Linked DNA regions of Homo sapiens: regions 2, 3, 4 and 5 are each linked to region 1. The links are contacts of gene promoters, found by promoter capture Hi-C in blood cells and fetal thymus (Javierre and others, 2016). All regions are on one chromosome and are shown on one strand. The core of a region is centred on a gene start or on the middle of the fragment in contact, and the rest is flanking DNA. Distances in the headings are between cores, read along the strand shown. Region 1 holds the start of ADO (2-aminoethanethiol dioxygenase). Region 2 has its middle 170 kb from the start of ZNF365. Region 3 has its middle 62 kb from the start of NRBF2. Region 4 has its middle 14 kb from the start of NRBF2. Region 5 has its middle 64 kb from the start of ZNF365.

What was found. The method cuts DNA at HindIII sites, captures the fragments that hold promoters and counts their contacts. A CHiCAGO score of 5 or more calls a contact.
Region 2: a contact is called between a fragment that was not itself captured here and the fragment with the promoter of ADO in region 1, in 3 of 17 cell types (M2 macrophages, M1 macrophages and M0 macrophages). The highest score is 7.7, in M2 macrophages.
Region 3: a contact is called between a fragment that was not itself captured here and the fragment with the promoter of ADO in region 1, in 2 of 17 cell types (M2 macrophages and neutrophils). The highest score is 5.5, in M2 macrophages.
Region 4: a contact is called between a fragment that was not itself captured here and the fragment with the promoter of ADO in region 1, in 1 of 17 cell types (neutrophils). The highest score is 5.3, in neutrophils.
Region 5: a fragment that was not itself captured here is called in contact with the fragment with the promoter of ADO in region 1 in 7 of 17 cell types (M2 macrophages, M1 macrophages, total B cells and 4 more); the score reaches 14.2 in M2 macrophages.

What each region holds. Positions count from the first base shown.
Region 1 is chr10:62,802,904-62,807,536 of GRCh38, reverse strand. It overlaps ADO (2-aminoethanethiol dioxygenase), which reads right to left and starts at 2,817. Exons shown (of 1, transcript NM_032804.6): 1 at 1-2,817. The coding sequence starts at 2,477. The coding sequence ends at 1,665. RefSeq lists enhancers at 2,213-2,332, 2,803-3,062 and a silencer at 2,513-2,762. The HindIII fragment of the contact is 5,397 bases long and covers 1-4,428 here.
Region 2 is chr10:62,545,775-62,550,234 of GRCh38, reverse strand. No RefSeq gene overlaps it. Among named protein-coding and RNA genes, the nearest start is that of ZNF365, 170 kb to the right of the region's middle. The HindIII fragment of the contact is 1,294 bases long and covers 1,977-3,270 here.
Region 3 is chr10:63,068,945-63,073,188 of GRCh38, reverse strand. No RefSeq gene overlaps it. Among named protein-coding and RNA genes, the nearest start is that of NRBF2, 62 kb to the left of the region's middle. RefSeq lists a cis regulatory region at 4,075 and an enhancer at 3,991-4,160. The HindIII fragment of the contact is 6,797 bases long and covers 1-4,244 here.
Region 4 is chr10:63,117,754-63,121,848 of GRCh38, reverse strand. No RefSeq gene overlaps it. Among named protein-coding and RNA genes, the nearest start is that of NRBF2, 14 kb to the left of the region's middle. The HindIII fragment of the contact is 2,438 bases long and covers 398-2,835 here.
Region 5 is chr10:62,435,764-62,439,977 of GRCh38, reverse strand. It overlaps a transcript of ZNF365 not described here. Among named protein-coding and RNA genes, the nearest start is that of ZNF365, 64 kb to the right of the region's middle. The HindIII fragment of the contact is 1,152 bases long and covers 1,193-2,344 here.

The sequences.
Region 1 (4,633 bases), core at 1,568-4,067:
TTTTATACTATCTTAAAAACTGGGAACAAATACTCCCTCACCCTGGGTCTCTGTGTGCATAAAGAGGCAAAGGCACGTACTGTTTCTCTACATACGGGGTCAACATTCCACTAATAATAGCAAATCTCCCTTTATTATAGATATTAGAACTCTATTGCCACTTGGGCAAGTCAATCAAGAGGGCTTAGACGACAGCTGGGCAAATTTTAATGTGTTTATTTCTACAATTTCTTTTTATTAAAAGTCTTGTGAAAAAACGGAATCCTATAAATAGTAAAAAGGGAGAAACAGTGCTCCATGGCCTGAAGCAAATGGTGTCAATACATGTGTAAACAAGGTAAGACTGCTCGGACTATTAAAAGCACAAAAATAAAACTAGTCACAGATAGCAAGACTTCATTTCAGGAGTTGGGAGTGGGAAGTAGGAAGTGTTTAATCCCAAGTTTTGGTGCCCTAAAATGGCTAGTAGTATAGTTAATTCTCAATTCTCTAGCTGTGATCTTCTGTGCCTTCTATCTCTTCCTAAGGAAAACCACATTAGATGAACCCAGGGCTCAGTCATTTTAGGGAGAGGGTTGAGACAACACTGCCAGCAACACAGCTGGAATCACCCGAGTCGGGAACATTAAAGTTCCTGAGAGAATATGAAACAACTATCAACATAATATTTCTCCCTACTTTTACAGTAAAATATTGGAAGTAAATAAATATAGGGAATGCAACAACTGGCTAGGAGTGTTTTACATTCAGTTGTTTGGAAGCATAACACATTCAGCTCCTTTGAATCTTCCCGTTAGAAAATACAGAATTACTCTATCACCTTTTAAGGTACAGTAAGACAAGAAAAAAAGTCATGTGAGGATAATACAGTCTTTGCATTAAAGGTGAATCTGCAACATGAAATCTGCTCGACTCACAGATCTGGAGATTCATAGGGAAGATAAGCTCTAAGTGACCATGTCACAGAGATATGCAGGTGCTGAATTTCTTAGTAGATGCTGCCTGAGTAAACCAGATGTGGCTACTGGGCAAAGGGAGGAAAGAAAATAAATCTTGTCCTCTACATGCATAGTTATGTTGTGAGAATGATCCCCAAACTGAAAAAATCATTTAGTTTTCACAAGGAATTAATTAGGCAGGCCAGCTCACTTTAAACAGTAGCTCATCTCCTTAAACCTAGTTTTTACCAATGACTTGAACTAAAAACAATTCAAACCACTGGGTCATGCACAGTCAATAAGTTAAAAAACTATAAGAAAAAAAGGCATAAGGGCATGAGTGGAAAATAAACCCTATTTAACTAAGGGGTAGGGAGTGGGAGCAAGAAAACCACTTAGTATTTTGTATAGAATGGGGAAGAGAGGAAGATATTTTCATTATGGCTTTAGGATGGAAGCGCTTCAGATAGTCCCCTGCCCCATTCCTCCAAATCAAAGCCCCAGTGGCAGTGACAGTACCAGGAAACAATCTAGCCTCCCCGCCCACCCCGCCCCCATAACCGTGCCCGGCGGCTGCTGTCCAGTCGCCCGTGCTTCCCAAGGCTGCCGAGGAAGCGGCTGCTGCTCATTCCAGTAGATCCAACGCCCAGGCTAGGGGGTAGAGACACAGCCCTTGTGGTAGGGTAGGGCACGTCTTCGGCCCACCGCTCCTGGGCGCCAGTGGCTTCAAGGGAAGACCTTGGGACCTGGATAGGGTTCTCCCTCGCACCAGAAGTCATCGGCCTGTGGGGTCTCCAGGAGCCACACCTCTCGAGGCAGGTCACAGGCCGAGCTGGAGGCCTCCTTGGGCCTGACCGGCTCCAGCACCCGGTAATAGTGGCAGTCCCGGCCATCGTCCGGGTCGTAGGGCGGGGCCAGGATGTCCAGGAAGGCGGCAGGCCCTTCCACGGCGTCGATCTGGTGCAGGTTGTCCCGGTGCGGTGTGAGGATGCAGGGGCCGCTGGCCTCGGTGTACTCGGCCCGCGAACGCAGCACGCCCGGCCGCACGGCTTCTCGCTCCCGGGGCTGCAGCGGCGGCTCGAACTGCTGCTCGGGCGGCAAGGCCCGCGGCCGTTGCCCGCCGCCCGCGTCTAGCTTGTCCATGCAGCTGATGCGCACGGTGCCGTACAGCACCTTGAGCATGCCGTGCATGCCCGGGTGGTCGTGCAGCGGGATGGACGTGCCGCTCTTGAGCAGGAACACGCCCAGGCTGAAGCCGTCCGTCTCGTAGATGTGCATGTAGGTGACTGGCGGCAGGTTGGGCGGCAGCGGCTGCAGTGTGGCCTTGCGCGGGGCGATGTTCAAGTCCTCGGCGCGGAGCTGGGTCAGGAGGCTCTTCAGCTTGCTCAGGTTCTCGGGGAAGCCCGGCTGCATCGGCGCCTCCGGGCCAGAAGCCGCGTCGCGATCGGAAGCGCCGCGGCCGCCCCCGCTGCCCCGGAAGGTGAGGCAAGCCTGGCGGGCGATCCGTTGGATCAAGGAGGCCATGTTGTCTCGGGGCATGGTCGGCTGCTCCTCTGCGTGCCGGGACCGGCCCCCTCCTTTCCTCCGCCCCTTGCGGTCCCCGGCGGCCGCCACGGCTGCCCCCAGCCCGGGTCGAGGCGGGAGGCCCCGCAACCACCGGCCCGTCGGGCGCGCGGCACCGCCGCCAACCTCAGCAGCCACGCGCCCGCAACTGCCCGGCGCGCTCGCCTTGAGCCCCCTCTGAGCGCGCACGCGCACGCCCCACACCCCGCACTCACGCTCCGGGAGCAGATAGCGGCCGCGCAGACGGTGCCAGGCTTTGCCTTACGCCCGGCGCTCCATTCATGCGGCCCGCACCTACGACGGTGGCCGGGCGCCCGGGGACCCTGCGGAGCATGCCGGGACTTGTAGTCCGGCCTTCCGCTTGAGCTCTGAGATAGTTCAGTTTGTTGATTGGAAAATAGAGGAACTATTACACATGTTGGGCATAAAGCGATCTTTTTCAGGATGCAGAGGTGTTTTTCTTGTTTTAGAAAAGATGAATCGGGGTGGAAGATTAGTAGCCACTTGACTACAACTCCCGGCACTCCCCGCAGGGTGGAGTGACGCACTTCCGTCAGCTGGCCCCCGGAGTAGTGGAGGCTCTTGGCCTTCATAAGGAAAGGGGCAGGGAGGGTCGTTAACCTTCTGGCGCCGCGCTGGGGCCTGGTTAGCCATGCAGGGTCGCCTTCCTTTGGCCTTGCCCCTGGGAAGGAGGCTGTTGAGTCAGCCTTAGCTCCTCGTAGCGGCCTAGGCAGCACTGTCTCCCACGGGAATTGCAGGAGGGCGCTTTTATAATTTTGTGTTTCCTAGGAGGGGAGGGGGTCCAGGCCGTCCTCTGTGATCATCAAGGTTACTCGGCCCAGCTGGGCCCAGCTGGGCCCAGCTGTTGTTTGCATCAGGACCTGATGACGCTGCTCTTCTGGTTACAGAGCAGTATAGCTTTTTGCTGGAGAGACTTGAGAGGCCATTTACAGTGGTCGTGGATTCTGAACATACTAGTGGTTATCAAATCTTGGTTTGCCTGAGAAGGGGGAGCGGGCTTTTATAAATGCAGATTCCCTGTCGTCACCCAGAGATGGAGTTACTAGATGGTTCTGAGGCATCCTAGGAGAAATAGTGGTGTGCAACAGTCAGTTCAGTCAGTAATTGTGAAATTGTTTCACTACACAGAGGCATCCTTCTCCTTGGCGTGAACTAACTTTTGGCATAAGTAAATGACTAGAAAAGCAAGACATTAGATACTATGACTTTAAACTTAACCCTGAGTTTAAAGTCTTTTTGGATTCCAAAGCTGAACATGGGTTTCTTGTACATTTTGTAATTGGAGTGGTTCAGTGAATCCTCTCCAGTTAAAATAGGCATACTTTTTAAAGTGGATTACATAACCTGGCTAATGAGTACTCACAATATGCCAGGCACTGTGTTAAGTGCATTATATAATGAATGTTATACTATTTAATCCTTGCAGCAACTCTTAAGAGGCAGGCACTATTATTATTCCCAGATTGCAGATGAGGGAATAAGTTGTAGGATAGTGAATACTAAGTACCCAGCAAAGCATGAGCAGCAGAGCAGAAATAAGTACAGTCTTACCAAAAACAGCAGCTTGAATTGGTGTAAAAGCACCAAACGAGAGTCAGGATATTGTTGTTCCAGCCTACTGTGTGTACTTACAAGCTGTGTGTCGTTAGGCAAATCCTACCCTTTTAGGGCCTCAATTTATTCATTTGTAGAATGCCGGTGTTAAGGGAACAAAAGTTCTGAACCCTACTCATCAGAACCCCCTGGAGAGCTTAAAAAATAAAGATCTTGGGGTCACACCTCAGAGATTTTGATTCAGAAGAACTGGAGTGAAGCCTATTTTTTTGTGTGTGGTTTTTTTTTGTTTGTTTGTTTGTTTGTTTTGAGGGGTAACAAGGTTTATCGTGAAGAGCGAAATAACAAAGCTTCCACAGCTTGGAAGGGGACCACAGCGGGTTGCCCCTATGATTTATATTTAAGATGCTTCCTCAAGCAATTATTATTATTATTTTTTTTTTTGAGACGGAGTCTGGGTCTGTTGCCCAGGCGGGAGTGCACTGGTGCGATCTCGGCTCACTGCAAGCTCCGCCTCCCGGGTTCACGCCATTCTCCTGCCTCAGCCTCCGGAGTAG
Region 2 (4,460 bases), core at 1,374-3,873, 260 kb after region 1:
ATTGGGTATGCTCAGGATAAAATATTGCATGATGTAAGAAACAGCAAACAAGAAACCAATCATTTTCCTCAAGTTATAGGAAACCCTGATAGCCAAATGGACCAATTCCAACTGACCAGCAGCCTTAATTTACTGAAATTACAGCTCCATGCCTATTTGCATAAGGAAGAACTGGATAAAATGGCAAAAGCTTTATCATCAATAACTCCACCTCCACATACCAATTAATAGGTGACAGGAGTGTCACGCATCCAGATTCAGCCCTATGTATTTGTGGCAATAGGACCAAATAGTTAAAACTAATATGAATTGGATTTATTCATTCAATAAACATTGTTTGAGTGCCTACTATATTCCAGGCACCATTCTAGGCCCTAGAGAAACAGCTCTGGATATAATAGAGTCTTCTCTTATAGAGCTTACATTCTAAGGGAGAGGGGGTAGACAGAAAGTAAATAAATATGTAATATAACAGTTAGTGATAAGTGCTGTGAAGGGAAAAGTAGAGCAATGCAAGGAGAGAGTGGGGGTGATGGTGCTATTTTATCAAGCGCAGCCACAGGAAGACTTTCTGATTAGGTGACATTTGAGCAAAAATCTGGTCAACACTATGACAAAATCAGAGAAAAGATTGTCTTAGTCACTGTATTCTGCTAAGCCAATGGACAGAGTAGATTCCTTTCAGAAATAGTTGCAACAAAGTTTTCAGAGGACTATTAACCCTCAGGTAATTAGAAAATCCAATCTGTCACAATTCCTCCTAACCCCATTTCTTAGACACTGCAGTCAAAAGAAGGCAATGTGTGTATTTATACATTATATATATATACATATATATATATGCATTCTTAATTGTCTACTCATAGACAATCTGCTATAGTGGAAGAATAATTATCTTCAAAATGAATGCAGATAGGAGATTGTGCAATTGATAAGTTCTCCTTAGAATCCCCACGCTATCTCTTTGTGATTTTGAGTCAAATGGGTAACCTTCCCAGATTTCACTTTATCTGGGAAAACATGATAACAACACCTACCCTTGGACTGGCTATGAGGATTAAGTCAGATGCCATATGTAAGATCTGGGCACTTAGTAAGTACCTAAAAACATGTTAATTTTATTCTCCCAAGGTGCCTAGAGAATGATTAATTTATGAAGAGTGTCATAGAGCGATGCAGTAAACATAAAATTTCATTTCTTTTCCTAGCAACAGAATTGGAAATTTTAGGATGTCCAGGAAACTAGTGGTTTAAATTGAAATGATTATTCTATGTTGTCAACGTCAGTAACCCATCTGGACTATTTGTTTAAAGTCTTTTATTCCAGCTAAATATCAGCTCAACAGAAAATAATGAGAGTGAGTACCATGTCTGGAATTTCTTTGGACGCTGTGCCCTAAGAGTATAATAGCCAGTCAACTATGTGAGGCATATGCTCAGTTACAACCTCTCATTGTCTGCAAAATTAACATTTATTTTACTGGACCCAGTAGGGTGGGTCCAATAAATGGGCACCTGCAAGTTTTCATATAACTTTCATTACAACACTTCTGTAAGCCCAGTACGCACTTTGCTGAATTTCCCCAAAATAGAATGGATGGGACCCACTGGGTTCTATTTTAGACTGGCTTGTGTATCCTTCCCCTTACTGCACATCTACAGAACTAGAATTAGAGGAAAATTTCTGCAACCTGTCTAGTACTTAGTGCTCCATGTGGGAGTTTCTTTAAAATATATGAATGGGTTATTTTCTCATTTTGTTAATTATTTCAGGAGGCTAGTGGTAGGACAGCTGCAGAGTGCCCATCACTCTACTGTTTCCAAAATTAAGTTTTCCATGAACAAATCTAGTAGATACAGATTGAACTACTGTTGAACACCAGTATGCTGTTCTTATCCCATAACCTTTCTTCAGAGGTTCATTCCATTTTTACTGATGTGATGTCAAGTTTTTTCAAAATGTAAAGGTAAAAGCTTGCTCCATTAACAACCCACTTTTAACATGGGCATGACTTCTAGTTGAACCAGTATTATGTGCAGACCCGGAATTATCCCCACTGATCCTGAGAGCTGAGAATTTCTCTAAGCTGACTGACCCTAGAGGGGAGGGAGCTAACCCCTGGGAGAACCAGAACACCTGATCCTTGCCTGTGGTGTCAGAGACCAAGGTATGTTACTAACCCTGGCCTAAGTGGACTTGTTAGCTTTGGTCCCCAACACTAGATGTGAAATCAATGGAGAACCTAGTTATCGGATGGGCATTTTGATGCGGTGATAGTAATCAAATCTATATAAAGAAGATTATCACTGAAATGAGTATCACTTTTAAATAATACTTTGTACCTTAATATTAAGTTTACACAGCACTATCTACAGTATTAGTTTATATAATCTCCACAAATCAATGTGAGGAAAATTATCATCTTCATTTTACATATGAGAAAATCCAAGACTGAAGAAGTTAAAGAGTTTGCCCAAGATTACACAACTAGTAAATGTCAACTGGAATTGTTCTCCATATGTTCAGAGTTCAAACTTCCTGCTCTCCTCCCTCTACTAGAGTCTTCCAATTCCTGTACTCCATAGACACACTTACTCATTAGTTTTTTACATTAGCTACCTATCTTTTTCTTTTTATGCTATTTTACATTATCGCTTGACTTTTGATTTTCAGGTGACCAAAGGACCATGGATCCTCAACAAATCTCTAAAAGTCCAAGGTTGACTCTAAATTGAAGAAGATGGTGTGTTTTCAAACGAAAATTATATCAGAATACATGTATCTCTGGGCTTAATGACAAAAGAAGAGATTCAGTTATGTCTTTTATTCCTTTGTAAGATTTATATCAAACCCTTCTTATTCTTTGAAATCCATCCTATTCATCCCAAATCATAGTGAGATCCTTCAACATTGACTATCTAGACCATTTGTTTGGTAGTTCATCATGAATTGCATTATGTACCTCATGTATTACTGACTTGTTATTATCGTCTCATTATTATCTAATTTTCCGTTAATGAATTGCCTCCCCACTGAAGGCTTATAGAAAGAAAGCAAGGGCCATATCTTAAACTTTTCTCAATTCCTTAGATTCAAGACTGACTTTAAGAACGCTTATAAAAAGAGAACCACGGAAAATATGTTGTTATAGTTACTAATTTTCTACGCACTCTCCACCTCTTTTTGGCTAACATAACTCTGAGTTTGTTGGGCAGTCATGTGATCCAGAGATGCCAGTGAGATATAAGCAGATCAGTTCTGGAAAAGCTTTTGTGTTCTTTTCTTACGGACAGGGAGAAGAGATCTTGCTGACCCACCCCTTCTCTTTCTTTCTGACCTGAATGTGGATATGTGGTTTGCTTCTGTGGCTGCAATCAGGTGACATGAGGCACCAACCATTGGACCAAGAAGACAACAGCCAAAGACAGAAGAGCAGAAAAATAAAAGGAAAAGGCCTGTGTTTTGATAACATCAATGAGCAGCAGTACCAGTGCCAATAGTCACCTGTCTCCAGCCTTCTTGTGAATGAGATACTACAGGTCTGTATTGCTTGAGCCATTTCTAACTCCAGAATATATTTAGAGTTTCATACTGAAGTTGAACCACACATCTTTCTTTGAACTTCCTAACAGGCAAAACAACTGCATAAAAGAGATACTCAATTAGTTATTATTTGTCATTGTCTTTGAGGAGAAAATTGATAGTTCTTCAAGAGAGGCACTGTTTCTTGTGAAACTTAGTTCTTTAAGAAATGTCTTGGGTGGGGCATCATAGAGAGACACTGAGTTATGGTGGAAACTGTATTTAAATCATATCCCCAAATTAAATGCAAAATTAGTTTTCATATGGTTGTTTCTTGTAGGACCTTTTAATGTAAACTGCAGATATAATACCAAACCCTAACACAGTGAAAACAATTATGTAAGAGACTATTTAGGTCATGCAGCCTAAATAGATTTTTGTTGGGCTTTGAAACCAAAAACAACAAATAATATTTTTTATTTCCTCATCTAAATAATTTTCATCCCTCTAGGTTGTCATACAATCAATGGAAAGCAAGACATAGTTTCTGTTATGTAATTCAAAGTTTCACAATGGAAACAAATCACTCTCCTATGGAAATTTCCCAAAATATTGCTCTGAAAGAAATAAGTTTTAGAATCTAAATTTATATGTTTCACAGTCTTCTTTGATTCCATTAATTAAATAATTGCTTACCTCTATTGTTTTCCTGGTTAGAAAGAAGGTCATTTAATTGGGTCTTAGTCTATCAGACAAAACCAGCTGGCCCATTGCTGAATTAGAAAAAGAGGAAATACTGACTCAACCCATTTAAGCAGAGAGCAGCGTAGGCAGGGAGGGTCAGCCTTACACATCTTTTATTGCAAAATAGTTCCAATTCTCTTGAGACTGGATGAGTGGGAGAGAATAGATTATACTTCTGAAGTAGAAGCTATCT
Region 3 (4,244 bases), core at 867-3,366, 270 kb before region 1:
GGCATTCCTGGCATGTCTGCCCACGCTCGGCTGGCTGCCTCTCCTGTCGGAAGCTCTGCTGCACAGGCTGAGACAACAACAGGACGACCAGCCCGTGTCCCCACAGCAGCTCTCACCAACCAGGCGAGGTGCTCTGTGAGAGTCCCCGAGGGCTTGGGCAGAAATTCATGCTGCCCCAGCAGGCTCAAAGCTAGCTCAGAAGTCGCACCAATTCCAGGGGGTTTTCCAACAGTTTTCTCTCCCGCTCTTTATCTTACTCCTGTTTTCCCACTTTGGGCCACATATTCTCCACCTCAATACCCAACTCACCTACAAATTGAAAATGTCCTTGCTTACATAGCTCCTTTCACAATCGCTCCAGGCTCCCAAGTGGAGTAACAGATTAACAGTCTATCCTTTTCCGTTTTGGGAAAATTTCCTTTGGAAAATCTTCTCTAGGCTGGGTGGGGTGGCTCACACATATAATTCCAGGACTTTGGAAGGCCAAGGCAGGAGGATGGCTTGAGGCCAAGAGTTTGAGACCAGCCTGGGCAACATAGTGAGACTCCGACTCTGCAAAAAAAAAAAATACAAAAAAATTAGCTGGATGTAGTGGCTTGTGCCTGCAGTTCCAGCTACTCAGGAGGCTGAGGTGGGAGGATTGCTTGAGCCCAGGAGTTCATGGTTGCGGTGAGCTATGATAGTGCCACTGCACTCTAGGCTGGGCCACAGAGTGGGATCCTGTCTTAACAAACAAACAAACAAAACATCTCTAGTTTTGGCTGCTTCCCTTGCTTTTTTTTTTTTTCCCCCTTCTTATTCCAGAGGGACTCCTCTGGCCTACAGATGACTTTTATGAATGATGGCAGAAATTCAGTGGGCCAAACCAGCTAGGTTGGGGAGAACAGCTTCCTCTCCTCCCCTTCACCACATCCTGGGGGCCCAGGTGATTGGCTCTGGACCAGGCTGGTGTCCAATGGGAGGAAATCAATGTCCTATTCCCATGACCCTGTTTCTCCTTTTCCATTTTGGGTCTGAATTCTGTTTGATTTAGGTCCATGGAAGAGAATAGTTATGGATTGTTATTGGAAGACCAGAGGAAGGGAGACAGAGCCAAGACTCAGCCGTGTCACTTGACAAATTACTAAGGGCTGAGGGGGGAGGCAACATGCTCATGGTGGCGAGGAAACTGCAACTCGTTCTACAGAAGATAAGAACCCAGAATGTGTTGTGAATTCCCCTGGGTCAAACTAAAGGCAGAAGGAAGGGGAGAATCATGCAGAAAGCAAGATGGCACCTTTATCTAAATATAGTATAGCACAGAGGCAGTGATGCTAATGTTAAAGCAGCCTTTGGAGTTCTGACTAGGGCAAACCATTCATGTATTTCAGTTTGTGCTAAACGCCTAAACATATGGGAGGCGGGATCAATCTACCTATCTCTGCATTTTTTTCTTTTTCTTTTTCTTTTCTTTTCTTTTCTTTTTTTTTTTTTTTGCGACAGAGTCTCACTGTCACCCATGCTGGAGTGCAGTGGCATAATCTGGGCTCACTGCAACCTCCGCATCCCAGGTTCAAGTGATTCTCCTGCCTCAGCCTCCCGAGTAGCTGGGATTATAGGCATGCACCACCACACCTGGTTAATTTTTTTTTGTAGTTTTAGTACAGACAGGGTTTCGCCACATCGGCCAGGCTGGTTTCAAACTCCTGACCACGTGATTCACCCGCCTCAGCCTCCCGAAGTGCTGGGATTATAGGCGTGAGCCACTGCGCCCAGCCTATCTCTGCATTTTTATACCACCTTTTGCCAGAGAACCCAGGTGCTCAGACTGCGACCAGTTGGACGACTTGCCCCCATCCTGAGAACCTGGCAGGGACCCAGGCTAAACATTACAGCAATGTTTGAGCAATAGAGACTCAGCCTTAGCCCAGGGTTCCACCCCTGCACCTCCTGCCCCTGCCAGCAGAAAGCAGCAGGGTCTCTTATGGGATCAGCTGAACAATCAGCTCCACTCTTGATAATGAGATCTTGAGCTCTACTAAGAAAAGACGGATATCGAATTTAGCTCTTAGACGCTTTCATAGCTCTGTCTAGTGATCTGTGGGCTTTCATGGACAGCTGTTTGGTGCTAGGAGGAAAAGCCTGGGCAGGGAGGATTTGCCTACCTGCCCCTGTGGTGGGAGGAAACACAGACAAGAGGGTGTTCCTTTTATCATACTCTCCAAAGGCTAGAGGGGAGGAGGGAGAGCTGATCACCTGGCATGACCAGCACTGACTCTGCTTAGAGGGTTCTCACCCTGGCTCAGGGCTTTTTTTTGGGTCCAGGATTTTTGCTGTACCAGTGCACAGGCTGCCCTGCTGTTTTTTACTTTCTAAAAACGTACATCTACTTTAAAAACACAAATATCTCCTTTAGCATTGTTGTAAGCAGCAATAAGCATGGAATCACATACATATGTTATATACTTATGCATATTTTTCTAATACACTTTCAGATAAATATGTAACTACTACAAAATCATTTGTGAAGTACCTAAAATTTATTTGAGTACCCCATTTTAGGAAAACTACAGTAAGGTTGGCCTTTGGAGGACATGACATGCTTGGTCAAGAACACTATCCCATGTCAATGTGAGAAGGGTAAAACCAGTTGATTTAGGTTGTTCTAACATGAGACTCAATATCTCATTCATCTTATGAAAAAGAAGAAGGAAAGAGAGGAGGAGAAGGAGGAGGTGGGGAGAAGTTTGGTAATTAGGATGCTAGATGATTGTAAAATATGAACATGGACTTGAGTGATGAGGCTCAGGTAAAAAGCATTTTTTTTTTTTGAAATGGAGTCTCATTCTGATGCCCAGACTGGAGTGCAATGGTGCAGTCTTGGCTCACTGCAACCTCTGCCTCCTGGGTTCAAGCGATTCTCTCACCTCAGTCTCCCAAGTAGCTGGAATTACAGGCGCTTGCCACCACGCCCAGCTAATGTTTTGTATTTTTGGTAGAAACGGGGTTTCACGGTATTGGCCAGGCTTGTCTCAAACTCCTGACCTCAAGTGATCCACCCGCCTCAGCCTCCCAAAGTTCTGGGATTACATGTGTGAGCCATCATGCCCAGCCGGTAAAAAGCATTTTTGATTATTACATGGACAAATACTTCAGCTCATGGCACCAATCCTAACCAACCATTTTCTGAGTCTACAGAAGTGTATTAGGCAGACCAGGATAAGCAATCCTGAAGTAACATGAATGCTTGAAGCCCCTGTGGCTAAACATGCAACAGTTTTCTTCTCACTCACACAAAGCCTGCTGTGGGTTGAGTGGGTTCTCTGAGGTATCTTCCGTTCCCAAGGTGACTCAGATATCCAATCCCACCACCTCGGCACATGGCTGCCAGAGTTGCCCGAGCCAAGGAAGAGCACCTGGAGAGTCTCACGGGGCTTTTTGCTGCCCGAGACCCAGATGACCTACGTGGGTTACATGTTCCTGCCTGGCAGCAAGAGTGGCTGGGGTATGTTTTCCTCAGGGAGTTCAGGAAAATGAGGAGAAAGGGGTATGGATGAGCACTGGAAGTCTCAGTAAGAAAAACACAACATCTGGAAGCTGACAGTTTGTATTTCCACTCACCAGTTATGTGTTTTTTCATATGTGACACCGGCATACAGATGCCCACTTTGTGACTTTGTTGTGAGATTAGATAAGATAATGCACATAAATGCCTCATGCTTTACTGCCTCTATCTAATTAACCTGGACAAAAAGAGTGTGGTGTGATGGAGATTTGAAGATTGCTTCAGGGTGCTGTGTGCTCAATTAGGACTTCATTTCAAGCCCTAGGGTGAGCCTGCTGCTATTTGACCTGCCTTCTACAGAAGCAGTGTGTCTGTCTGTGAGTACCTGTCACCAGCAAATGATAGTTCCTGTTTCTTTCCCTCTTGGCAAGACTGAAAAGTCAGTATTAGGTTTTAAGTTCTATTTAAAATATAACAACAACTTGGCCAGGCACGGTGGCTCATGCCTGTAATCCCACTCTTTGGGAGGCAGAGGCAGGCAGATTACCTGAGGTCAGGAGTTCAAGACCAGCCTGGCCAACACAGTGAAACCCCGTCTCTACAAAAAATACAAAAATTAGCTGGGCATGGTGGCGTGCACCTGTAGTCCCAGCTACTCAGGAAGCTGGGGCAAGAGAACTGCTTGAACCTGGGAGGCAGAGGCTGCAGTGAGCCAAGACAGTGCCACTGCACTCTAGCCTGGGTGACAGAGCGAGACTCT
Region 4 (4,095 bases), core at 367-2,866, 320 kb before region 1:
TCAGGATCAGCAAAAGAGGAGAAAGGATGGAATTTTACAACCATGTCCAAATGGTGATGATGGGCATAGCACCCACCTGTGCCATCCTCTGCCATTTGATGTCATGCTGTTGGTCAGTCAGTCACAGGCTGTGAAGAGCATGCTGGACTTGGCCAGGCTATTAAGGGAAGATATTATAAACCTACTGTCTTAGTCTATTTTGTGCTGCTGTAACAGAATACCTGAGACTAGGTAATTTATAAAGAACAGGGATTTATTTCTTACAGTCTTAGAGGCTGGGTAGTCAAAGGTTGAGGGGCTCACATCTGGTGAGGGCCTTCTTACTGAAACTATGCTTATAAACTTTATGAATTAATCAGGGAAGAAGGAAAGGGGAAAAACAAAAATAAACCAAGCTTGCAGCACATTCAGCATGAATTATAAGATCAGCTTGCTCTCCCTAACCTGCTGCCTCATAGTTATTTGCTGCCTATTGCCTCAGAATCACATAGACCCTGTTACAAGATTATAGATCCCCTTAAATGCTCTGTAGCAGCAGTTCCCAACCTTTTTGACATCAGAGACTGGTTTAGTGGAAGACAATTTTTCCACAGACGAGGGTTGCGGGGTGGTTTTGGGATGAAACTGCCCCATCTCAGATCATCAGGCATTAGATTCTCATTAGATAAGGAGCCAGCAACCTAGACCCCTCAGCAACCTAGATCATGTGCAGTTCACTACAGGGTTTGTGCTCCTATGAGAATCTAATGCTGCCACTGATCTGACAGGAGGCGGAGTTCAGGTGGTAATTCTTGCTTGCCCACTGTTCACCTCCTGCTGTGCGGCCTGGTTCCTAACAGGCCGTGGACAATTACCAGTTTGTGGCATGGGGGGTTGGGGACCCCTGCTCTATAGATAACAACTTGAACATTATAAAACATTAAGTTTTCCTCTTTGAGATAATCTGTCAAGTCCTGCATACCAGTGAAACTACTGACACCAGCTGGTCTGAAGGACCCAACAAGAAGCTGACTCACCAAATAATGCAGTTGCCATGTCCTGATTATTTCATTCCTTTTACCACAACTAATGACTTCCATTTTCCAGCCCCTCATCCCCCATGATTCACTTAAAAACCCCAGCCCAGAAGTCCTTGGGGAGATTAATTTGAGGGCCTCCTCCCATCTGCTGGCCCTGTGCACTGTGATCATTAAACTCTTTGTCTGCTGCAAACTCTGCTGTCTCAGTCTGTTACTGCACATCTGGCATGCAAGCTGTTGGTCCTAAAACATTGCTACAGCATCCCATGGGGGAAGGTAGAAGGGCAAGAGAGCATGCATGCAAGAAAGCAAGAGATCAAACTTGCAGCCTCAAGACCTTTTATAACTGGCCTAAGTCCATTCATAAGGGTGGAGCCATTATGGCCTAATCGCCTCTCAAAGGTGCCACCTATTAACACTGTTGCATTGGGGATTAAGTTTCCAATATTTGCTTTTTGGGGGACACATTCAATCCATAGCACCTACAAAGACTTTAAAACTATCCGGGTTTTGGCCAGGAACGGTGGCTCACGCCTGTAATCCCAGCACTTTGGGAGGCCGAAGCAGGTGGATCACGAGGTCAGGAGTTCGAGAGCAGCCTGGCCAACACAGTGAAATCCCATCTCTACTAAGAATATAAATATTAGCTGGGTGTGGTGGCACCCTTCTGTAATCCCAGCTACTCGGGAGGCTGAGGCAGGAGAATCGCTTGAACTTGGGAGGCGGAGGTTGCAGTGAGCCGAGATTGTGCCACTGCACTTCAGCCTGGCCACAGAGCAAGACTCTGTCTTGGAAAAAACAAACAAACAAACAAACAAACAAATAAAACCTATCCAGCTTTCTTCCCTTGATATTTGGGAAACAGTAGCTACGCCTGAACTTGCTACAGGGTGTTCTTTGTTTTGCATTTTTGTATCCCTTCGGATACATGGAAGACTTCTTTAGTTATCAGAAAAAGCCATTTATTTTCTGAGACCACCAGTGGAGAGTTGCACTAATCCCTAGGCAATCCCAACTAGAGACACAATGGAAATGCCTATTATTAAATGAGAGACAAGAAGAGCCAAGCAGTAAGGCTTCTGCAACTCAGAAAAAATGGGGCCTGGGTGCTTTGAGAGAGCATCTAAAAGCTGGTCCTGCAAAGCCTTTGGTGCTCTTCAAGGCTCCCCAGGAAAATGCATTTCATGTCAAAGAGCCCAAGCCTAAATGGGCCAGTATTGAGGTATTTGCCACATTGGACAGGTTCTTGATGCTTCTCCAGAATGTGCCACAAGGCTTAATTTCAGACATTCCTTGGATATTAGCTGCTCTAATCTCATACTCAATATTGTAATTATTATAATTATCTCTTTACCATCATGATAATCCAGTCTCTCCTTGAACTACTCAAATCAAGGCAGACCAATCTGTGGTAGGATATATTTTAAAATTCTAACATTTGTATATTTGATATTGGATTTTTTTTTTTACTATTAGAAAGTCTTTCATTTGTGTGAATTGTAATCTGTCTTCCCATGACTGCTATGCTCTGAATTTTTTTTTCTTATAAATCACTATAACATATGTGTGTGCAACCAGGCACAATCTGTTCCCTGTATCAAAATGCAAAATGTGCATATCCTTGACTCAGCAATCCCCATTGTAGAAACCTTCTCTACAGAAATACTAGCACAGAGGTAGAAAATAAAGGTATGTGAGGATGTTCATTGGGGTGCCATAATAGTACCCTCCCTAATTTTGGAATAGTTCAAACAAAACTAGCCAGACCATTTGACAGGCCTGCTAGAGAGAGGGATTCCTGCATCAGGTGGAAGCTTGGATTGGTTACCTCAAAAGCCTGTCCGGTTATAAGTCCTTGGTTTGCTCATTTATGGGGAGAGAGTGGAGCAGACTGTCCTGGTCCCACTTTCTGCTTTCTGAGCTTCTCTGCTGAGCAGGAGAAAAAGATGAACCTCCATTATGCAGTAGGAGAGGGAGTCCAGTGCACCTGCCACACATATGATGTTTGCAGACTGCCCAGTGAAGCCACCCAAGAGCATTCTTCTGTAGTCACAAAACCTACAAGGCCTGCCACAGAGACAGTAACAGGGACAACAGCAGGGTTGGGAGTAGCAGGGGCAGCAGCAGGCCCCAGAGTAGTGCTGGGCGCTTGGCTGCATCCAAGTCCACATGTCCAGAACAGATAGCACAGCAATGTCAGGGGCAGCCAGCAAGGGCCCAGGAGGAAAAGGAGCCAGGATGGTCACAGCAGGACCACCAGCGCGTCCTCAGTGGGTGTTAAATTAGCTGTGCGGGTGCTTCATGCATATCCTTGGAGAGCATGTCTAGCATGTGGCCAGGGGCTGCCAAGGGATCCCCAGAAGGCAGAACGAGTGTGGTGACTACAGTAGTAGAGATCACTAGCAGGAGTGTTGTGAAAACAGCAAAAGGGCCAGTAGGGAGATCTCTCCTTTCAATCTTATAGAGTAAAGGCTGCATCTGTAGGTCTGGATCTGAAAATAATAATAATAACAGAATAAAGGCTGCATAAATGAATGGGATGAGAGAGAGTTTCCCAGGTCAGTGCTGAGGTCCAGATGGAAAGATAGGAAGCAAGGGGAAGGTACAGAACATAGAACTCTAAATTAGAGAATCCTCCATTACAGGAGGTTATGTGAAGATAGCAGCAAGACAAATGAAGATAAGTAAATCTGAAAATTATCTTCCTGCCAGTCGTTAGCCATGAGACCATTAGAAATTTTAAAAAGGGCTAAGCATGGTGGCTCACACCTGCAATTCCAGCATTTTGGGAGGCCAAGATGGGAAGACTGCTTGAACCCGGGAGTTTGAGGGTGCGGTGAGCTATAATTGGGCCACTGCACTCCAGCCTGGGTGACAGAGCCAGAAACTGTCTCTAAAAAGTAAATAAATAAATTACAAAAAGAACAAGGGCAGAAGCAGCCCAGGAGGCACCAGCAACAGCTTCTCCACTCACAAGAGCTTCAGGCACCATCCCACCATAAAAGATTCTAGGACATTTCACCATTGGAATTGGGAAGCTGCTCTACAAACTAGTTCAGATTCTGCAAGTAAGATA
Region 5 (4,214 bases), core at 519-3,018, 370 kb after region 1:
CAAAGGAAAAACATGCAGATTGCACATGTTTATTTAGCCACCACTCTGTCTCAAGCACTGGGCCAGGTTCTAAGAAGTATCAAAATTAAAAGTGAGATGATATTTTTGAGGGATTTTAATATTTAGATTGTGTCAGTTAGGATATGTTTGGCTCTCAGTAACAGTACACCAAATTATTAGTGGCATAAACAATAAAGACATTAAATTAAGTAATAGAAGATATAAGAAGCTGGAGGATGGTCATTTCAGAGCTGATTTACCAGCTCCACATTGTCAAGGTCACTGGGTTGACATCTTCAAGAGTCCCTTGGGTTTCCCATTTTGTTCACAAGATAATTTTGCAGATCCAGACATTAAATCCTTTATAACCTCATGCAAAGTCAGGGCAAAGGAAGAGCCACAGCTATTAGAGGGCTTGCACATATGCTTTCCCATCTTTGTTATAAAGAATATGTCTTTCTCAGAAGATATCAGTGTATTTCCCCTATGCTTCATTGGCTAAACCGAGCTACACATCCCATCCCTAGCTGCAAGAGAATCTGGGAAAGGGAGGCATTGTTAGGTAGTGAGTCAACATTTTTTTTTTTTTTTGCTAGAGTTGAAATAATCATAAAATTCTAAGTAAAGATTATTTAATCAATTGCTCAATCACGTGAGTGCTTCTGGAATAAACACAATGAAGGAATACACATGGCATGAGGAAAATGTAAAGAGAGAGAGGAAGACAGAGACCGAGAAGAGAAAGAATAGACCCATTATTAGTTGAAAGATGAGAAGAATTTAAATTGGTAAAGATGAAGGAGATTTCAAGTAAGGGAGAAAAACTAAGAAAGTGGGAAATGGAATTAAAATATCTATACTGACCAGAAACCATAAGTGTAGTATCAACAACAGCAAGGTGATAGTCTTACCGATATTCATACCATTAGAATAATTTTATTTTCCATGCTAAATGACCTTAAATGAGCACTATTTTCTATTTGAAATGTGTTTGTGTGTGTATTTCTCAAGAAGCACTCTAGCTAATTAGACAAAATGCTTGCAAGTTAGTGAGGCTGTAATGCAGAAGGAATAGAGACCAGGCAAATTCTTTCTGCTTGATGCCTACCTTAATAAAGCTTTCTAAGTACTGTGAGAAGCATACTGAGGAAGGATACTGGTGCTAGATACCATTCATCAGCTATTGCAAGCTTCAAAGGCACCGAAATGCTGAGTTATGAGGATTTTGCCAGAATCTATTCAAGTGGAAAGCACCCGGAGTAAGGCACAGTGTGCCTCTGAATCTTCTGCTTACATAAGAGAATAGCAAAGGCCTTAGATAAGGGAGTGACTTGATCTAATGTTATATCTCTTCCTTAATGCCAGTTATTCTGTATCTGCCCTTCATGTTTTTTTCCTTTATCTATCTTGTTAACACTCAAAATTACTTTATGTATGTGTTTGTTTACCTGGTTTTTGTAGTCTTTCCCCTTTCAATAAAAACTCTATGTGGCTGGGCATGGTAGCTCATTCCTGTAATCCCAGCATTTTGGGAGGCCAACGCGGGTGTATCACTTGAGGCCAGGAGTTTGAGACCAGCCTGGGCAATGTGGCGAAACCTCATCTCTACTAAAAATACAAAAATTAGCCTGGCATGGTTGCTGCGCCTGTAATCCCAGCTACCAGGGAGGCTGAGGCACGAGAATCGCTTGAGCCTGGGAGGCGGAGGTTGCAGTGAGCTGAGATAGAGCCATTGCACTCCAGCCTGGGTGATGGAGTGAGACTCTGTCTCAAAAAAAAAAAAACAAAAACAAAAACAAGAAAATACTGTATGAAAACAGATATAATATTCCTGTTCTCCATTGTATCTTCAGTCCTTGTCACAGGATCTGTGGACTCTCAATATTTATGAAATGAATGCATGAGTGAATAAATGCTCCTATCTGTTAACTAATTTCCCATACACAGTTACTTGAAATCTACAAAGCTGTCCAGCACCAGCTGTTATTCCAACAGGCCCATGCTATGCATCACGACAGAAGAATGATGTTGGATGTAGAGCGTGTTCAGCAAATAAAACTCATCAAACCAAATCTCACCAGGCGACCAATAAAAGAAAGATTAATACCTACATAATCAAGCCTGTGGTTTGTCTTACTTTAAAGTATGTGGATAGATTATCAGCTGTCACCCCCTAGTGGTAGAGAATATAATTATCAGGGCTGCTTGTTTCTGGTCAAAGGAAGGAAAAGAAGCCAGGAGATTTACAGAAAAGTGCATTTGCTACCAATCTCACAACCTTTAAATTGCATATACTATTCACACACACACGTACGTATATGTGTGAATTTAGAAGGAAAAAGCTTTATGAGTTACACCTTACTCTGATGATCTGGCTGTTTGTTAACTGCCTGGAAAACATAACATGAGATGTAAATAACTTGCTAAAAACTCGCTTTAAACTTTGTCTGCTTCCGTCATTACAATTCCTTATGAAATCCCTTCCTGAGAAAGAATTAAAATAGCTATTTATTCTCAAAGCCTCTTAGAGAAGAATATTGATTTCCTATTTAAAATTTGACATTTACTCTATGACGTGCGTAGAATTTCCAGAAAGCAAGGAAACCATGACGAAGTTACCCTAAAGCTTGATATAGATCAACTTTTTTAGATAAATTTCAGAAAACTACATTTTTTAAAGACAAAAAAAGTTAAATTCAGCCAAACTGCTACTTACAAATCATTAGTCGCAAAACAGCCAGTTGCTTAACTGAATTCAACCACATACATTTCCCTGCCTCCACCCAATCCTATTTTCCAAAACACCCACAGACACATATATTTGTATCTATGGGTATAGATTGTGGAAGACTTTAAAATAAACCATCCAAAATGATCTCTGATTCTGAAATCACTGGAAACAGAGAATACATTTCTCATACATACATTTAAATGTGGTATTTGACTCTCCCTCTTAGCTAGAGAGAGTTTATGTGGAATTTATAAGAAAGTTTATAGTCAGAAGTCCATCTGCTTATAGGTCTTGTTTGAAATGCTTGGTGTGTGTGTGTGCTAGCCACATTTTTTGGAGCACTCGTTGTTTACGGTGCATTGAGCTAGGCATTTAACCCTCCTAACCAACTTATGATATAAACAGTACTATCATAACCATCTTACAGATGAGCCTGCTCAGGCATATTAAATTCCTGGCACAATGTTACCAGCTACAGGGCTAGATCTTACTAGATCCCAATTGGTTGTCCTTCCATCATTAGCTTTTTCAGTTAATTGGCTCTGCTCAACAAGAAGCAGGAACTTAGTAAGTGCAATGATGTTGGTCATGAAGGGTGCTGGCAAGATTCAAAAGGCTTCAGGAAATATTCATTTCTTAGTGAATAAAAATTTCTTGGTGAAAATCTTCCTGCCTTAATGAAATAATGAACCTAATTAACAACTAAGGTCTTGTAAAGCATCAAAATTATCCTTTTTAGCATTATATTTTTATGTGTTATTACAAATCTGGATATGTTCTATAATTTTATTGTGTAACTAAATCTCAATTGTTATTTATTTTTTTGCCAGTGGCTTTTTTTTCTCCTAAATATAAAGAATGATTCCCTGTACCCTCTTTTAACTTCCCCAAAATAATCACTTAGTTTAATTAAGGGTTCTAGTTACTTTAGTACCAGTTAACCAACTTTTTACCCTATTTAATTTATATGGCTGTTGGAACTTTCCTATTTGTCTAGAAGAAAATTCCCATGGCCTGGAAAATTGCTTGCTTGCCTGGTGGGATTGCCAGTTACACGCTAATTATAGTATCTTTTATAATACATTAGATGGTGGTGGCTCCTTTATATATATATAAGTGAAACTCACAAAGACGTTCAGACCAGTGCATCAGTAAGGCTGAATAAGAAAGAAAAGTAACAGTCTTAAAGTATTACGGTATTACAAAAAAAACCAAATACCCATGAAGTAAAAATTTTGAAGAGTCTCAGGTGTGAAATCCTACATTCCAAGCATTAAGTTAAAAGGACAAAATACCACAGAACTGTCAGAATGGGTAGCCTTCTTTTGCACCAATGCTGAAATATCATTTTTTATACAACTAGTCTTTTGCTAGATATTTCAGATAATGACATCAAATTTGAGTAGGCTGTTTATCCACTTTGCCTATGGGGAAGAGACTGGTTTTTAAAAGAAATGAGTTTGTTTTCTTGTTATGGAAGAAT